2 separate regions of the Homo sapiens genome follow, and region 1 is linked to region 2. The links are contacts of gene promoters, found by promoter capture Hi-C in blood cells and fetal thymus (Javierre and others, 2016). All regions are on one chromosome and are shown on one strand. Each heading gives the region's core, a stretch centred on a gene start or on the middle of the fragment in contact. The rest is flanking DNA. Distances are from core to core; before and after follow the strand shown. Region 1 has its middle 390 kb from the start of DELEC1. Region 2 holds the start of TNFSF15 (TNF superfamily member 15).

Region 1 (6,087 bases), core at 1,062-3,561, 720 kb after region 2:
CAACATATTCCAGACTGATGTGAACAAGAACTCAAGTGTCTGGGCCAACTCCAGCTCCCTTCTGCTTTCTGGCTCTGGACAATAGAATCTGAGATGTCATTCTGCTACAACCTCACCAATTGGCCATTTTAGCCTCTGATTCTGCCCTTTTCCTATGACTCTGACTTCATGATATGAGAATATTTAGTATCAAGGTGAGGTGGCAAGACATTCATAGAGACTTAAATGAGTCACTGTCTGCCTATAGTAATGCCCCTTAGTATGGGAAAGAGATGCCCCTCTCATGGTGTGGTACCAATCAGCATCAGGATCTCTGCAATATGCTTATGCCAGTGGACTCTATGCTTCATGAAGGCAGAATATCTATCTTTTTATATACAGTTGCATTTCTAGAGCATAGAAAGATGGACTGATCCACTGTAGGTACATAATAAATAATTGTTGATGGCCAGGATATTAGAATTTCACTGTTTATATAAATTGCTTATTATTCTATGATTTTGGAAAGGACATTTAAAACCTCTGGAAGTCAGTTTCTCTATCATTGAAATGAAGAAAATACTAGCTACTATGAAAGTTTTTATAGGATTAAAATACTGTACATCAAGTTCTAGGTACATAGTAGAAAATAAACAAAGAAAATTATTCTTTTCCTTCTCCTCCTTCTCCTCCTCCTCCTCTTTCTCTTCCTCCTCCTTCTCCTTCTCTTCCTCTTCTTCCTCCTTCTCCTCTTCTTCTTTCCCACTACTTTTTGTTTTTATTATTATTGTCACTATTATTATTACTATTATTATTTAATTATTTTTTATTTTCAAGAATGCCATAATATAAACCAGGCTTATGAGACAGGTAGATTCTGATCACAACACCTTATATATATTTGGCAGACATATTTACATCATGCATCTCAGCCAATACTCATAACTTCCCTCTCTTAAATAGGTATCAGGTAGTTCATTTTATAGGTGAAGAATGAGGTCTGCACAATTAGTACCTCCTGGGATTTTTGCACAAACAAAAAGCTTCTCTGCTTGGATAACTCTTCTGTGGTGTGCTTTAAAGCTAAGCTTGTTTGTTCTACTATATTCAAAGGCTACTTCCTCTACCTGAGGCAGAGTTTGCTGTTTCTCTCTTTGTGCTCCTGTTGCATGGGATAACTTTATCTACCATTGTAGCTTTTACTTGTCATTTATTGTTCCTTTTATTAAAAGCCTATTTCTTGACAACCTCCTGGCTGTCAGAAATTTTGCTCAGGCTTTAGGAATGTAGTGAGTAGCAAAACAGATAAAACTTTCTGACCCAACAGAGCAAAGATGTCATGAGACATAGACGTTAATCAAATAGCCATAAATACACTCTATATGAAATAAACAGGCAGCTGGAATTGAGAGAGCGAAAGGTAGCTTGAGATTAGACTGAGTTTTTTAAGCAAGGGCAACATTATCCATAATTGTCCTACTAAGGATTTCAGGTTTTTATCCTAAGAATAATAGGAATCTTCAAAATAGTTTAAACAGAAGAGTGACTTGATCAGAATTTAATTTTAAAATACTACTGTCTTTCTTTTATAGAGAATACAGCTATTTTCCACACTACTTAAAGACACAGACCATGTTCAGTATTCCTGTAGCATCTAGCAAAATAGTTGGCATATAGTTGGCACCTAGGATTGTTGTTAAAATAGTAAATGAAATACAGCAATAGCTGAGATTTATATATATTTATAAATTATGTAATAATTTTTATTTATAAATCATGTAATAATTTTTATTATACTTTAAGTTTTAGGGTACATGTACACATTGTGCAGGTTAGTTACATATGTATACATGTGCCATGTTGGTGCGCTGCACCCACTAACTCGTCATCTAGCATTAGGTATATCTCCCAATGCTATCCTCCCCCCTCCCCCCACCCCACAACAGTCCCCAGAGTGTGATATTCCCCTTCCTGTGTCCATGGATCTCATTGTTCAATTCCCACCTATGAGTGAGAATATGCGGTGTTTGGTTTTTTGTTCTTGCGATAGTTTACTGAGAATGATGATTTCCAATTTCATCCATGTCCCTACAAAGGACATGAACTCATCATTTTTTATGGCTGCATAGTATTCCATGGTGTATATGTGCCACATTTTCTTAATCCAGTCTATCATTGTTGGACATTTGGGTTGGTTCCAAGTCTTTGCTATTGTGAATAATGCCACAATAAACATACGTGTGCATGTGTCTTTATAGCAGCATGATTTATAGTCCTTTGGGTATAGACCCAGTAATGGGATGGCTGGGTCAAATGGTATTTCTAGTTCTAGATCCCTGAGGAATCGCCACACTGACTTCCACAATGGTTGAACTAGTTTACAGTCCCACCAACAGTGTAAAAGTGTTCCTATTTCTCCACATCCTCTCCAGCACCTGTTGTTTCCTGACTTTTTAATGATTGCCATTCTAACTGGTGTGAGATGGTATCTCATTGTGGTTTTGATTTGCATTTCTCTGATGGCCAGTGATGATGAACATTTTTTCATGTGTTTTTTGGCTGCATAAATGTCTTCTTTTGAGAAGTGTGTGTTCATGTCCTTCGCCCACTTTTTGATGGAACCAAAAAAGAGCCCGCATCACCAAGTCAATCCTAAGCCAAAAGAACAAAGCTGGAGGCATCACACTACCTGACTTCAAACTATACCACAAGGCTACAGTAACCAAAACAGCATGGTACTGGTACCAAAACAGAGATATAGAACAATGGAACAGAACAGAGCCTTCAGAAATAACGCCGCATATCTACAACTATCTGATCTTTGACAAACCTGAGAAAAACAAGCAATGGGGAAAGGATTCCCTATTTAATAAATGGTGCTGGGAAAACTGGCTAGCCATATGGAGAAAGCTGAAACTGGATCCCTTCCTTACACCTTATACAAAAATCAATTCAAGATGGATTAAAGACTTAAACGTTAGACCTTAAACCATAAAAACCCTAGAAGAAAACCTAGGCATTACCATTCAGGACATAGGCATGGGCAAGGACTTCATGTCCAAAACACCAAAAGCAATGGCAAAAAGACAAAATTGACAAATGGGATCTAATTAAACTAAAGAGCTTCTGCACAGCAAAAGAAACTACCATCAGAGTGAACAGGCAACCTACAAAATGGGAGAAAATTTTCGCAACCTACTCATCTGACAAAGGGCTAATATCCAGAATCTACAATGAACTCAGACAAATTTACAAGTAATAATTTTTATATATAAATTATGTAATCATTTATATATAAATCATGTAATCATTTTTATATATAAATTATGTAATAATTTATCATCTTGTCAGTGATCTACTCAAGTAGCCACTGTTATGCCAGTTGAGAGTTGAGAAGACTAAAATCCTGAAGGATGGTGTTAATTGGTAGAGTTGGCAGGTGGTGAAGCCAGAATTCAAACTTGGCCTATGAGATTCCATCGTGGCTGCATTCTTTCCACAGAAGTATGCCCTGACCCATGCTACGTTTTGTGGCCTCTTATGGAGTCTGTGCAACAAGGTAGATTCTGAGAGAATAAAAGCTTTTGCCAATTACCCCTTCTCCCCCAGTTTCTTAGGCATTGGAGATCATTCTCATCTAATACCTCTATGACATCAGAAACATCCTAACTGTTCAGTCATCTCTCCATCTTCCTGTTGCATCACCTTCAAGCTCCAGTTGATACAGTAGGCCCCCTGTATAGCTGTGTAACTTGGGATAAGTTTCAAGATTCCCAGTAGATGCCTGAAAACACAGATAGTACTGAACCCTATATACACTGTATTTTTTTCATATGCATACATACCCATGATAGAGTTTAAATTATAAATTAAGCACGGTAAAATTTTTACAATAACTAATACTGAAGTAAAACAATTATAAAAAATACCGTCCCCTATTTCATGGATAGAAGATTTGCTCTCACCCTAGATCTTAGCAATGTCAGCATACCATTTTTATTTTCTCATTAGGTAGAGAACTTTCACCTTTTCACTTAAAGAAAGCACTTTTGTGTGGCTTCTCTCTGGTATATCTGAATTGCCAGCATCACTACTCTTGCCCTTTGGGATTATTATTAAGTAAAATAAGGGTTACTTGAACATAAGCACTGTGATACTGCAATAGTCCATCTGATAACCAAGATGGCTGCTAAGTGACTAACAGGTGGGTAGTATAGATGGCATGGAGACACTGGACAAAGGGACAATTCATGTGTCAGGCTGGGTGGAGCAGGACTATGTCAGATTTCTTCACATTACAGAGGATGGCATAAAATTTAAAGCATATGAATTGTCAATTTCTGGAATTTTTCATTTGATATTATGAGACCACGGATGACCATGGGTAACTGAAATCATGGATAAGGTGGTAAGGGGAATACTGTACTCTTCTTCCCAGCATCAATTTCAACACCAGCTTACAGTGCCTCACCATCGTTCAATGTCTCTGGATCCCAATCAATGTGGGTCAAACCAGTTGCTCTTCATTTTTCTTTAGCTAGCTATCAGAAACACATAGTCCAGTGTCCTAGAAGGCTGCTCCCAACTTCTACAGCAAATCTATTCTACAGAGTTTTGAACTCAAGGTCTTCTATGGTGTTTTATAGCTCATGTATCAATATTTGCTTTGACTCCCAGTAAGAGAAACCCTTAAACAAGTGTCATAAATAAATCATGAATTTTCTTACTCATATACAATAAGAAATGTGGAGGCAAGTAATCCAGGGCTTCCATGGCTATTTCAAGATGCCAGTGGAGACTCAGGCTCTTCCTGTTATTTTCACTGAGCCTTTCTTTAGCATGTGTTTCCACCAAAATGGCAGATCCACTTCCAGCATCATAGTCATGATCTAAACCAAAAAAAGAGGGAAGGGCAAGGCATAAAAGGTACATGCTGGCTGAGTGGACCCCCTTTTAAAGACCTTTCTCTGAAGCCTTACAAATAGCTCTGACTATGTCTGATTGGCTAGCCCAGTCATATGGCCACTCCCAGCTGACGTTTTTAGTTGGGCTATTAATATTACTATTAATGTTACCAAAGCAGTCATTTACTAAATGCCAAGATGCTCTCCATCTTATCTCACTTATTTCTCAGAACAGCCCCTTGAAGAATACATTATGAATTGGAGGTATAGAGTGGGTTTTCTGCTTTCTGGAGCTACAAGTAGAATTGGATCTTGACTACTCCAGTGCTTTCTCAACCACTATGGCCTTTTTTTCTCCCTCTGAGATGATCTTTCATGAAAAACCACATTATCATTTGGTGTCAGCATTTTAATTTTACTATAATTAAATAGTTGTTTTTCTGTGAAATTACATGGTACCCACAAGGCTGAGAATTAAGGAAAGCAGAAATAACCTAAAGGGTATGAAGAGGCTTCGTAGAAGCTACACACTGGAGATGGGTAGGCTTTTAAAAATTCCTACCCTAACCTCTATTCCAGTGGTTCTTAATTGTAACCAATCATCAGAATCATCTGAGAAGGTTTAGAAAATATATATATTTCTGAATCTCAACTGAAGAGTCTCTACTTCAGGATACTTAGCATGGAAACCACTGCTCTATTTTTTAGATGACTCTGAAGGTCTCTGAAGTTGGCCCCCTCTGCATAGAAACTGGCTTATTCTTTCTGAATACATAAGTATTATCATGAACTCTCTGTATGCTTTGTGAATGCAGCACCTCATGGAAACCTAATATTTGTATGATATAAATAGCACTTTTTATTCCCATTTTCCAGATAATGCAATAGAGGCTTATGAAGTAAAAGTCACTTGATTAAGGTCATATAACTAATATATGGTGTTTCCAGGATCCCAAGCCAAGTCAGCCTGACTTTAAAACCATGGATTTTTCCACTCTGACATGTTGCCACGAACTGAGTCTGTCTAGGGAGAACATTCTTCAGGCATGCTAGAATCATTTCTCACCAGCATCCCCACAGACTCCATGCTGACTAATAAATGCCTACACAAATCTTATATCATTGCTTCCCAGAAGTCCCTGCCTCCATGGTTTCCCCAGACCTGTTCTGAAGGCCCCAGAGGACTGATAGATATGATCTATTC
Region 2 (6,330 bases), core at 1,047-3,546:
CAGTGACTGCCTTTCTCCCCAGAGCCCTTAGGTCTTCCAGGCAGGCCCTCTCCTAGGCTTTAGTTCTCTCTGGGTTTCTCTAACACTTCTCCCTCCATGTGCCCTTCATGCCAAGGCATGGTTGCTGGTTTCCCACTGTTGCTAGTGCTGGATGTTCCAGCCCTTTCAGTTCCCTTCAATCCGTCTGCATCTCAGCAAAGAGGCCCTTCTTTAAATCCCTTCAAACTCTTTAAATATTCTTCTACAAATGCACTTTCTTGAGTGAGCCAGCTGTTTCTTTTCAGGACCCTGATTGCTACATGAGCCCAGCCTCACCCCCATTTCCCTCTCCTTTTCTTCTGACACACTAAGAAGTTACAGAGCCTGGGCAAACCAGAGCTGCAATCATCCCCACACATCTGCTCTCCAGGAAGATGAATTTAATGATAATGGAATGGATGGTGTCAGCCTTATTCATTTCTTGAGCATCTGCAATTGGATAGGCACAGTGATAGATTCAGGTAGGGGCAGTAGCAGTGAGTAAAAAAGACCCCGTGCCTTCCTTCACCGAGCTTCCCGTCTAGTGACAGTGCATGTCTCCATCTCACCTTCTGGCTGGGCAAGTCATGGATCCTCCCTGGTCTGTAACATTCTGCTTGCTGGTCTTCTAGATAGACAAAGGCAGTCCTCGCCTTCTGCTGACCAAGGGCTCTCAGACATCATCTTGATCGTGGGAACCTGTCATGCCTCTGGGCTTCCTTCAGACCCCAGTGCAGGTTTCTGGAGGCCACTCAGTGTCTCATTCAAGGACAACTATCTCCTTCTGGCTAAAGAGGGACAGAGTCCCAGAGCACCAACTGGGCGCTGCAGTTTGACTTCCAGCAGAAACTGGCCCCTTGGTGGTCAAAGGGTCAAAGTCTGACTTCCCATGACCTGCGGTTCTTCTTTAACATAAACAGCATTTCCGGTTTGTCTGCATATTTCTACATTTTATGAGCAATGGCATCTGGCCATGAACGCTGCTGCCTGAATCACAGTCTGTTTGTTGACCCTGATGGGGCAGCGAGAATTACAGATTTTCCATGGCTTACTTGTGGTGTCTATGCTTTGAAACTGGCCAGGATTGCTTAGAGGCTAGGTTTCCAGTTAAACCCATTGAAAACCCATTTTTTTCCCTTTGCAATTTAATACTTTGAACTGAAATGAAATCAGCCACCATAGATTATGAAGGGACATTTTTAAAAAGGATATTACTGGAAAGACTCATTCCTTAGGTTTTGAGGTACATCTTTGTTGTTCCCAGCCAAGAATTATGTTTTCTTCTTGACACCTATCGCTGCCCCTACCATTGTTCTCCCTAGACTTCATATTCTTTTTCTGACTAGGCTTCTCCCAGGCCTCAGCAAGACCTTAGAGATAGACAACCAGGCAGGAGGTTCTTTCTTAAGCTCTAAAAAGAGAAAAAGTTCTAAACCCAAGAAAAAGAGTGGGTAAAGAAATTATAGCATCCACATATAGGAATGTGTATCTATAGCATCATGTTGTTGTGAATTCATTAGCATATAAATAAAATCATAATATATTAGCAGACTCAGAATAATCTCGTCTCATTAAAAAATCCGTTTTATATCTGGCATATAATTCTGTACAGAATTATATATCCCAAACTGTTAACAGTGGTCAGCTATAAGAGTTATGGGTAATGATGACTTTCTTCCTCTCCTTATCTGTATTTTCTAACTTTTTTCAATGACCGTGTTAGTTATGTAATTTTAAGTTTTTTTCTTAAATAAAAAGAATCTTCCCAAATTACCAGTATACTATGATTATAATTATCTAAAAAATATGAGGCTGAAGGTTATCCCCACAGTAAAAGAAGGGACTGTTCATTCCCTAGAAATATTGAGAATAAACACCAAATTGAACCTCTCCACCCCTCCCACTCTACATTTCCTCTGCATGTAGAAACAAGAAATGTGATACATCAAGAAACTCTATCCTCTGTCCAGAGCTGAAATAGTTGCCACTCACTGCAGAGAGTCCACTGCTCCTCCCCAAGGTCAGAGTGCCATGTGGCTTACCTGGAACTGCACACAGGCCTCTCCCTGGGCCCGGAGCTGGCTGACAAGCAGGTATGTGGTGAGTCCTGCAAGGAAGGGGAGCAACACCAGGCAGCAGGTGAGAGCCCAGCGTGCGCTGCTGCTCCTGGCCTTGGGCCTGCAGCTGCCGTGCTCTGGCAGCATTTCCACACTGGCTGTTTCCCCAAAGCTCAGTCCCAGATCCTCGGCCATGCTCCTGCTGCTCCTGGAGGCACCTCTGACTCCTGGGCAGAGAGAGCCCCCATTAAATAGAAGACCAGCTCTCACAGTGGGTGACTTAATCACTCAGTCTCCTCCTTCCCTTTTCCTCTCCCCTCCCCTCTTCAAGAGCACACTGTGGCCCTACCCTGCTAGAGAATGCACCGCCTACAACAGAAACCAAGTTTGGTTTGAGGAAAAAAAAAAAAAAAAAAAAAAGAAGAAGAAGGAGAAGAAGAAAGCTTTCCCAAGCATATTTATATACAGTATGCTCATGTGCTCCTTCCTTCGTTTACAGAAGGAAGTTAGGAAAGTCCCTGAAGGAGGAGAGAAAGAATTCATCAAGTCAGTGGGTGGGGCAAATTAAAATATACCTGTTCCCTGCACTGGAGGCTTACCAGCTGTGCCAGTCTGGGGAGTGTGCTTCTGGAAGTGAAAGTGAGGGATGAGAGGTGTGTGGTTTGCAGATTGGGAAACGGAAATCACATTTGCATCAGCTCTTTGCAAAGTGCTGCCTAGCCCTCTGTCATTTTGAACCTCATAGAAATTCATTCTCAGTGTACAGATGGGAATAGCAAAGTTCTAAAAGGTGAAGGCACTTGTCCTAGGTCATCCAAGGATGAAGACAGAGGAGCTAGGAAGATGACCTAGTTCTAAATCACGGCTTGGAGTTGTAACCTCTAGCACATGACTGCCCATGAAAGGAAAGTATTTCCAGTCTGCATTGACCATTGTTTAATCAGAGTATGAGGCCACAGATCGAGGTGACTGTCTGTGAGGGTAGAACATTAACCACTACTCCCTGATTAGTCTAAAGTTAATTGATCATGTGATGTGCTTTGCCTGCAGTTGGGTGTGGGGGCCACAACATGTAATAAAAGATTATATTTATTAAGTGCTTACTTTGTGCCAATCACTGCTCTAAGTTAAATACATCAATAAAATTATTCAATCCTGAGATAAATTTTGTGACAATAAAGCTATCATTCTCATTTTACACATAAGAAAATAAAGCACAGACGGCAAGTGGTAGAGCCAGGATTGGGACTCAGGCAGGCTGGCTGCTGGCTTCTTCACCATCACACTTCACCATAGGTACTGCTGGATCATGCATGTTCATAAATACCTGCACTGTCTTTACCCAGGAGTGGGTAAGACCCTGCAGTGAGGGGGTTGAGGGGGCTTCCTGGAGAAAGAGGTGGTGTTGGAACTCGGCCTTAGAGCTCAGGGAGGGTTGATCTCAGAGGAAAGTAAAGGACCCTGGGAAAAGATGGGTTCTAGAAATAATAGGAAAGTTTAAGGAATGGCCTGTGATGTACGGCAGAAACCAGTTTTACTAGCGCCTCCATCCAGTTGCTACTTCTGGTTATGTCACAGCCTGGACTCTTCAGGCTACTTGGAAAGGCCTTTCATGGCTTGGTCCCTGCTCACTGTCACCCGTCCCCAGTGTCCAGCCTCAACTTTTACTACTTTCCCAAGCTGCAGTTCCCTGGATACACTATTGACTAGCTGTACTGTTGCAAAATGGAAGTGTCCAGTCCTCTTCCTTCATATCACTATGCTCCTATGCTCATTCTAGCAAAGGATGATTTTCATGTCCCATGGCTACTCATTCTTGGTTTAACAAATCTATTAAAAAATGTCTTTGAGACTAACCTAAATCTCTGCTATTGTAACTTAACCTTTCTTTTCTATGCTCCTGTTCCTTAATTGTGTGTAGAAACCATTTTTGTATCCGCCTGCCTCCAAGATTGGGTAAGATGATCATATTCTATGTTCCTATAGCTTCCCTTTCTTCCCTATCATTGAATACCTCCTACTAGACTATGTTTGACCATTCCTTCTGTCTCCCCAATTAGACCATCAGGTCTGGGAGAGCAGGTACTAAGTCATAACCCTTCCCCATGACTATTGCTCCTAACTGTTATTCAATAGACTCATTACCATCTACTAAAATAAGCATCTAACGTATTTTCAAAGAATTCTAGCAAAGGATGATTTTGATGTCCCATGGTTACTCATTCTGGATTGAACAAATCTATTAAGAAACATCTTTGAGATTAACCTAAATCTTTGCTATTGTAACTTAACCTTTCTTTTGATGACTGAGTAGCATTCTATGGTACGGATATACAACAGTTTGTTTAATCATTCGCCCACTGAAGGACATTTGGGTTATTTCCAGTTTTGAGTTATTATGAATAATGCTGTTGTGAATATTTGTGTACAGATTATTTTGTGTGAACATGTTTTCACTTTTTCTGGTATAAATGCCCAAAGTGAAATTGTTGGCTGTATGGTAAACAAATGTTTAATTTCCCATGGTAAAATTAACTGCCATGGTAAAAACATACCATGTTTTTTACCATGGTATGTTTTTACCATGGCAGTTACCTATAAAATTTAAGCAGTTGCCTAAATATAGCAGTTATCTACAATTAATTCTGTAGGTAACTGTATGGCAGTTACCTACAACCAGAGTGGTTGTATCATTTTACTTCCCACAAGTAATGTGTGAAAGGTCCAGCATCCTCTCTGTATCCTCTCTCCAGCATTTGGTGCCTTTACTATATTTTGCTTTTGCCGTTCTGATAAGTGTGTGGTCGTATCTCACTGTGGTTTTAATTTGCATTCCCCTAATGGCTAATCATGTTGAACATCTTTTCACATACTTATTTGCCATCTGTATAACTTCTTTGATAATACAGAGATCTATTTTGGCTGCCAGGAGGTACTTCTTTTTTCCTTCTTGAATCTCAGTGGATTCAAAGGCAAAAAGTAAATCACTTAACAGATAAATGATGAGTTATCGCACTTGAGTATGTGCAAGATAGTGTTCTAGGTACTGGGGATAAAACAGTGAAAAGAACAGACAAAACCTCCTGCTTTCATGAAGCTTATATTCTGGTGGGGGGAGACGGCCAGTAATTAAAACAAATAAGTTAATTTATAGTACATTAGATGGCCTTAAGTGATTTAGAAAAAAAAAAGAGATAAATGATCTTAATTGCAATTGAAAATAGAGTTGTCAGAATAGACCTCATTGAGAGGAGACATATGAATGAAGACTTGAAGAGGGTGGGGGAGGACGTGGAGGTGTCTGGAGGAAGAGAGCCTGGCATTGAAGCCAGTGTACATGGTGTATTTACAGAGCAGCAAGGTGGCCAGGTCAGCTGGGGCAGTGGGTGAGGGGGAGTGGGGGGACCACAAGGTCAGAGTGATGGAGGAGGCTGACCGTGTGTGTCCTCCTGGGTCCAGGTAGGACTTGGCTTCTTCTTCACTGAGTTTGATGGGAAGAGAGGTGGTGGTGAGTGGAGTAGGGGTTCTTTGGAAGGTGATGGGCGGAGAGGTGGCAGGCTCTGATTTTACTTTGAAAAGATCATCCTGTTTGCTGTGTTGAGAACAGCCTGAAGTCTGGGAGACCCATTTGGAGACCACTGCAATCATCCAGGAGAGGCAGGATGGTGGCTTGGATGAGGTGATGACAATGAGGGTCACAAGAAATAGTGGATCCTGGATATATTAATATTTTAAACTAGAGCAGACATAATTTCTTATTATGCTAGATGTGGAGTGAGAGAGAAAGAGAAGAGAAAAGTCTGAGTCAAGGGCTTTTTGTTTGAGCGTGGGGTGCGTAAAGACATCTTTAATGGAGGCAGGGCAGGCTTTGGCTAGATGCTTGAGAGCGGAGATTGAGATAAATAAAGTAAGGGGACTTTTAGATGACCAAGCGGAGGCAATTAATAGGTAGATGAACGGTTATTTGGGGCTTCCAGGCAGAGGCTTGCATGGAGATACTAATTTGAGAGTCATGCTTGACACGGCACCTACCACACAGTTAATACTCAAAGTGGAGGGTCTCCATAAGATTACAGGCCGTCAAATCCTGTATCTCAAGTCCTTGGAGCCAGGTTTCAAAAAGCATTAAGTTGAACCATCTGAAATTGCATATATCTGGTCATTTTTGACCTGCAATAATAATAGTTTTATATGGTTGTCCTGAGTAACCTATTACACATACCTTATATTTCATAACACTTTTGGTGGGGTCTGA

The links. Contacts are between HindIII fragments. The CHiCAGO score rates a contact against its expected background, and 5 or more counts as called.
Region 1: a contact is called between a fragment that was not itself captured here and the fragment with the promoter of TNFSF15 in region 2, in 2 of 17 cell types (M0 macrophages and M1 macrophages). The highest score is 6.3, in M0 macrophages.

Annotation. Positions count from the first base shown.
Region 1 is chr9:115,525,624-115,531,710 of GRCh38, forward strand. No RefSeq gene overlaps it. Among named protein-coding and RNA genes, the nearest start is that of DELEC1, 390 kb to the left of the region's middle. The HindIII fragment of the contact is 2,493 bases long and covers 1,066-3,558 here.
Region 2 is chr9:114,803,743-114,810,072 of GRCh38, forward strand. It overlaps TNFSF15 (TNF superfamily member 15), which reads right to left and starts at 2,297. Exons shown (of 4, transcript NM_005118.4): 1 at 2,061-2,297. The coding sequence starts at 2,270. The HindIII fragment of the contact is 3,139 bases long and covers 1-2,516 here.